Linked DNA regions of Homo sapiens: region 1 is linked to region 2. Evidence: promoter capture Hi-C in human tissues and cell types (Jung and others, 2019). All regions are on one chromosome and are shown on one strand. Each heading gives the region's core, a stretch centred on a gene start or on the middle of the fragment in contact. The rest is flanking DNA. Distances are from core to core; before and after follow the strand shown.

Region 1 (3,055 bases), core at 206-2,705, 48 kb after region 2:
TTAAGGAGGAACTGCTAGGACAACCAGAGCCTTGTTCCTCTCTCCCTGAAAGTAGGATGAGATTTACCCAGTGATTCCTGTGGCCCCTGAGGTACTGAGCCTGGGGTAAGCTGCTTTTGGGGCCCCTCAGCTGCAACAACAGTAGGCCATGTGCAATTGAAGCTCCATCCACCCAAGGCAGCTTTCATAAGCCTTGGGAAACTGGCACATAATGAATTCTAGTCTTCTGTTGTCTCTTGCTTCCTATCTGTAAGTAATACATTTGCTTCATGTAACTTGTTGCATGTGAGTGTCTTCTGTCTCACCAGGCTCAGGCAGGTTCACAAAATTCACCAGTGCATGGTGAATCTGGTTCACAAAATTGGTGAAGTGAGCAGGGCCCTCTTTGATAGAACCATGGCTTATTGATGAAGTGGAAGGAATGATACCCCGAAGTACCCAGCCCAGGGTGTAGACATCAACCTAGAGGTGTGCAGGAGCTGGACAAGCAGCCAGATGATTTATAAAAGGAAGAATGAGAGGTGAGATTATAAGCCAACAATAAAATTTGAAGGCCTTCTCACCATCTGAATGGACCTTTCCTCTTGGCCAGGGCATTCCAAAGTTTACCTGATTATCTGGTTCAGGTCATGACAGGAAAGAAGGGCCAATTATACCCCACTCAAGTTTGGCTTTCAGGAAAAGCTGACCAGCATTAACATCAACACATACCTCAAGTCTGACAAGAAATATTTACAATCTATTCTCTCTGAAGCCTGCTACCTGAAGGCTTCATCTGCATAATAAAGCTTTGTTCTCCACAACCCCTTATCATTATAACCCAGACATTCCTTCCTATTGATAATAACTCTTTCAACCAGTTGCCAATCACAAAATTTTAAATCTACCTATAACCAGGAAGCCACACCCTCACCCCACCACCCTTTCTCAGCTTCGAGTTGTCCTGCCTTTCCAGACCCAACCAATGAATTTTTTACATGTGTTTGATTGATGTCTCATGCCTCCCTAAACTCTATAAAACCTGGCTGTGCCCCGATCACCTTGGGCACATGTTTTCAGGATCTCCTGAGGGCTGTGTCACAGGCCATTGGTCACTCATATTTGGCTGAGAATAAATCTCTTCAAATGTTTTACAGTTTGACTCTTTTTGTAAACAGGACATAGGTCACCCCCAACCCTGCGGATATGAGTGAGCTGGCTGCACTGACTGGGGCAGAGAGAAAGAAATATAGAATAGGACAGTGGCAAGCCACCCTCTGATTGTTGGACACTTGTATGGTTGTTCATTCCCGAGAGCTAGAGAACTCAGGAAATGGATACTCAGTTGATCCCTGAGAACCCTGAGAGGGAAGAGGAAGAGGTCCTCTGGTGGTCCCTGAGGCATCTGAGAGGGAACCAAACACAGTTCATAAGGGCATTTACAGAGCAGAAACTCATTATCCAAAGAATAAAAATGGAGAATAGCCAGCTAAATCTTGTGCAGGCTGGGTGGTGTGTCCAGCTTCCGCACCCCTGTAGGTTGATGTCTACACCGTGGGCTGGGTACTTCGGGTATCACTCCTTCCACTTCATCAATAAGCCATGGTTCTATCAAAGAGGTTCTATCAAATCCAAATGTCTCAGGCTGAATGGCCCAGTTGGGAATGGGGCCACGGTCTCTGGTTTCCTCCCCACTGGAGGTCAGTCACTCTATATTCCTGTCAAGATAAAACAGGAGTTCTTATAATAAGCCAGGAACAGAAAGACAAACTTTGGATGTTCTCAGTTATTTGCAGGATCTAAAAATCAAAACAATTGAACTCATGGAGATAAGAGAATATAAGGATGGTTACCAGAGGCTTGGAAGGGTAGTGGAAGTGGGAGGAAGCGGGAGAGGAGGTGGGGATGGTTAATGAAAAAGGGCCGGATGTGGTGGCTCGTGCCTGTAATCCCAATACTTTGAGAGGCTGAGGCGGGTGGATCACCTGAGGTCAGTAGTTGAAGATCAGCCTGGCCAACATGGTGAAACCCTGTCTCTTCTAAAAATACAAAAGTTAGCCAGGCATGGTGGTGTGTGCCTATAATCCCAGCTACTCAGGAGGCTGAGACAGGAGAATCACTTGAACCCGGGAGGCGCAGGTTGCAGTGAGCCGAGACCATGCCATTGCACTCCAGCCAGGGCAACAAGAGCAAAACTCCATCTGAAAAAAGAAAAAAACAAAAAAAAAAACAAAAAAAAACAGAAGAATGAAAAAGACCTAATGTTTGACAGCACAACAGGAAGACTATAGTCAATAATATCTTAATTGTACATTTTAAAATAACTAAGAGTATAATTGGATTGTTTTTAACACAAAGGATAAATGCTTGAAAGGATGGATACCCCATTTTCCATGATGTGATTATTACAGATTGCGTCCTGTACCAAAATGTCTCACGTACCTATTAAATATATCCACTTACTATGTGCTCATAAAATTTAAAATTTAAAAATTAAAAAAAAAAAGACATGCTTGCTTCAGCAGCACATATACTGAAATTGGAATGATATAGAGATGATTAGCATGGTCCCTGCTTTTAAAATTAATAATATTCCTTTAAAAGATAAAAAGGGGGAAAAAGGAATTCATATTTTTCTGGTGTTCTTAGATATTGGAACCCATGTGACAATATTTCCAGGTCTCCTTAAGGGAAAAATTAAACTGGTGACATTAAGAGGCTTGGGGACAAAAGCAGTGACCTATGGTGCTTATCTGCTGTGGGGTGCCTCTGGCCATTTGAGGTGCCGGTGACTTTGGTTCCTGTGGCTGAATGTCTTATAGTCATTGACATTTTGGCTGCTTGGGGCTCAGCACATCATCACTGCCTGAGGGGTGCGCCCGCTCACAGCTAAGAATTCCAGCCGTTACGGCGGGGCATATCCATGCCTGTCTGCCACCTAAGCCACCCAAGTCCCAGTGGGTTATTCAAAAAAACAGTACTGCATACTAACTGAAGAACAGGACATTATTGTGTTAATTATTGTTACAAATGGAAATGCTACAAACTACCCTGTCATAATGTAACAGCTCAGTTT
Region 2 (3,335 bases), core at 836-3,335:
TGGCCTTTTGTTCCCTTTACTTTTAAAATATTGGAATGCTTTAAATTTAAAACTTTTCGTGTATTACTTAACAATAATTATTATGAGTTACAATAGTGACGGGAACATATTAGCTGCTCAGTAAATACTAACTCCTCAACAGTTTCTTCCAAAACAAAGGAGCATGAGGCCTGCAGCCATAATCCCTCTTGCTGTGGGTCTGGGAATGGCCTCTGAGAACAAGATCTGCAGAGGGAGGTGGGGAGGGATGTAAAGGAAACAAGAGAACAGAGATCTGTGCAGCCGGCCATGCTTCACCCCTGCCTGGATCTTGCACCCACCCAGAGTAAACAATGCATTTCACCACATCTTTTGCTCCTCGAAACTGCTCTTTATGTTGCTATAGAGGGGGTATCATTTTTATTATCATTTTCCCTGAGTTAACAATTTCTCTGCTGTCCTTAGAATGAGACATAAGTTTTTCTTCTTCATAAAGGATATATTTTTTTTCCTGATTATAGTCAATATTGCAAATGAAAAAAAGCATAAAGGAATACAAGTTTAAGTAGTGGTTCATGCCTGTAATCCTTGCAATTTGGGAAGTTGAGATGGGAGGATCCCTGGAGCCCAGGAATTCAAGACCAGCCTGGTCAACATAATGAAACCCCATCTCTACAAATCAATCAATAAATAAAATAAAATATCTATAGTAGTAGTCATATACTTTGGTAGTGAAAAGGTAAATATTTCTGGAAGTATTTTGACCATATATATATAAAGGGCCTTAAAAAAAGTTATATGCTTTGCTAAGGAATGGCTATTAAAAGAAAAAAAAAAGGTGTGTGCTTTGACCCAAATGTTCCACTTGTAGGAATTAGTGTTGCAGAAAAAAGAAAATCAGGAACTAAGACAAAAATTTATGTTTTAGGCTGCTCAATACAGTAAAATCTACAATAGCCAAATGCAGAAAAGAGAAATAGTCCAAACTAGGGAAGTGTTTAAAAATAATTTTAAAGGCTGGGTGTGGTGGCTCACGCCTGTAATCCCAGCTCTTTGGGAGGCTGAGGTGGGCAGATCACCTGAGGTCAGGAGTTTGAGACCAGCCTAGACAATATGGCGAAACTCCGAATCTACTAAAAATACAAAAACTAGCTGGGTGTGGTGGCGTGCACCTGTAATCTCAGCTACCCAGGAGACTGAGGCAGGAGAATCACTGGAACCCAGGAAGCAGAGGCTGCAGTAAGCCGAGAACATGCCACTGCACTCCAGCCTGGGTGATAGAGCAAGACTGCATCTCAAAACAAACAAAAAAATTGTATATTCATACAATGAAATAGATTGTATCCATTGGATAGCATTCGTTAGGTTTGGGGGAAATGATGAATAAAAGGAAAAACACATACTGTTCCTAAAAGATTTTAAAACAAGGTTTAATGTATGGATCTAACATTGCTAAAATTATAAATAATTGCCCTTCATTAAAAACACGATTCCTAAAGGCTGCATGGAAATCTCTTTTATGATTGAACCATGCATTGTTTGTCTATCCCCCGCCTGTTGTATATGTATGCTGGTTCAGGTTTTTCTACATTTTTAATACTTCTGTAATGAACAAATTTACATATGAATCTATAAAGGACACCTCTTTTTAGAATCTCTTAGAATAGATGCCTTGAGTTGTCCAGAACAGATTTTAAAGATTGTTTGCCCTTTTCTGACTACAATACGTTCTTAAGAACATGCAATTAGACTATTTCTTCACCAAATCCCAAACTCTGCAGGTCTTTATTCTTTGCACTACTTCTCCCCTTTCCATGTGTCCACATGTGTGCGTGCGCACCCCCTCAGGCACACACCCCTTTCTCTGGGTGAGTACTCTCCCTGCATGCCCACTCACCACTCTCAGCGATTCAGCCCCTGTCCTCCCAGGCATTGTGAACCAGGCTCTAATCGACTTCCCCCACTCACCTCTTAGCATTCCCCTCTGAAAATCACAGCCCACAGAAGAAAGGCAGTTAATAGTTCTCCATTCTTTCTACTATGGTTAAATCTCCTTCTGGAAGAAAGGAAAAAGAAAGCAGAGACTGTCGGGTCATCGTGAGGAATAATAACAATCTCTCTTTGGAAGAATAAGTTTTTTGATTGGCTCAGAGGTGATGTTTCTCATCAGTTGCTGGGCAGAAACCACTGAGGAAGGCTGAAATGAAAACTGAAAGTACATTGAATTGTACACGTTGAAGAAAAATTCCTGCCCTACCTCCCTTACTGTTTATCTCTTTCATTCTTGTGTGTATATACGTATTTCTATATAGTCACTTGTCTTAAGTCTTTTATCATAATAGAAATATCAGCAGAACACAATGGGAAAAGATTTTAATGTGGTGAAGAGAGAAAGATGAGCACTAATTAAAATGCTACTGTGGCAGTTTGCTAACATTTGCTTGCATGAATATGGGTACATGGAGGAGGAGGAGATTTTACTACAGAGTCAAATAAACGTATGAATGGAAAGAAAACCAGACACAATGCACTTTTTTTTTGAAACGGAGTTTCACTCTGTCACCCAGGTTGGAGTGCAGTTGCAGGATCTTGGCTCACTGCAACCTTCGCCTCCCAGGTTCAAGTGATTTTCCTGCCTCAGCTCCTGAATAACTGGGATTACAGGTGCTCGCCCCATGCCCGGCTACTTTTTGTATTTTTAGTAGAGACAGGGTTTTGCCATATTGGCCAGGCTGGTCTCAAACTCCTGAGCTCAAGTGATCCTCCCTCCTCAGATCCCAAAGTGCTAGGATTACAGGCTTAAGCCACTGCACCCGGCCCACAATGCACATTTTTAAGCACCTCCAGCATCCAGGCTTAGGATCTGTTATCAAAAAATGTAATTTTTCTGGCTTCCAGAGGCAGTGCTGCTTGACACGTTTTACCTTTTTCAGCAAATTTTTAGTGCAGGTGTTTCTGAGCATCTCCATTCACCCTCAGCTCCTGTTCTGTGCTACACTGTATTTTCCTGTGTATTTGTTTCTCCTGCTGCCAGTGGAGTACATATTCTCTGAGGCCAGACTCTAGATAAACTGTGAATGCTGTCTCTGTAAGATGTCTATAAAACAAATTGGTTCTTCCTGTGGCCTAGGACCTCAAAACAGACTTTCTGGGATTGCAAGTCAATGATCGAAGTTCCTAAGGCTAAGATGTGACTGGGGCTGATGCAATTTAATTATATTGTAAATGTTTGAATTTAGACTGTGTAGTATCTGATTGAGATGGCTGGTCCCTTCTGCATCATGCATTCCCCCTTTCTTCTTGGTGATAAGGCCTAATTTTCTTAGGTACTACAACGTTCTTTTCCATCTGGTAGA

What was found. Contacts are between HindIII fragments. The study calls those that stand out against the background at their distance.
Region 1: a contact is called between a fragment that was not itself captured here and the fragment with the promoter of BTN3A1 in region 2, in 2 of the 25 tissues and cell types used here (neural progenitor cells and small bowel).

Annotation. Positions count from the first base shown.
Region 1 is chr6:26,352,470-26,355,524 of GRCh38, reverse strand. It overlaps the pseudogene LOC124901520. Among named protein-coding and RNA genes, the nearest start is that of BTN3A2, 11 kb to the left of the region's middle. The HindIII fragment of the contact is 5,027 bases long and covers 1-3,055 here.
Region 2 is chr6:26,401,025-26,404,359 of GRCh38, reverse strand. It overlaps BTN3A1 (butyrophilin subfamily 3 member A1), which reads right to left and starts at 2,085. Exons shown (of 10, transcript NM_007048.6): 1 at 1,948-2,085. RefSeq lists an enhancer at 2,118-2,177. The HindIII fragment of the contact is 20,018 bases long and covers 1-3,335 here.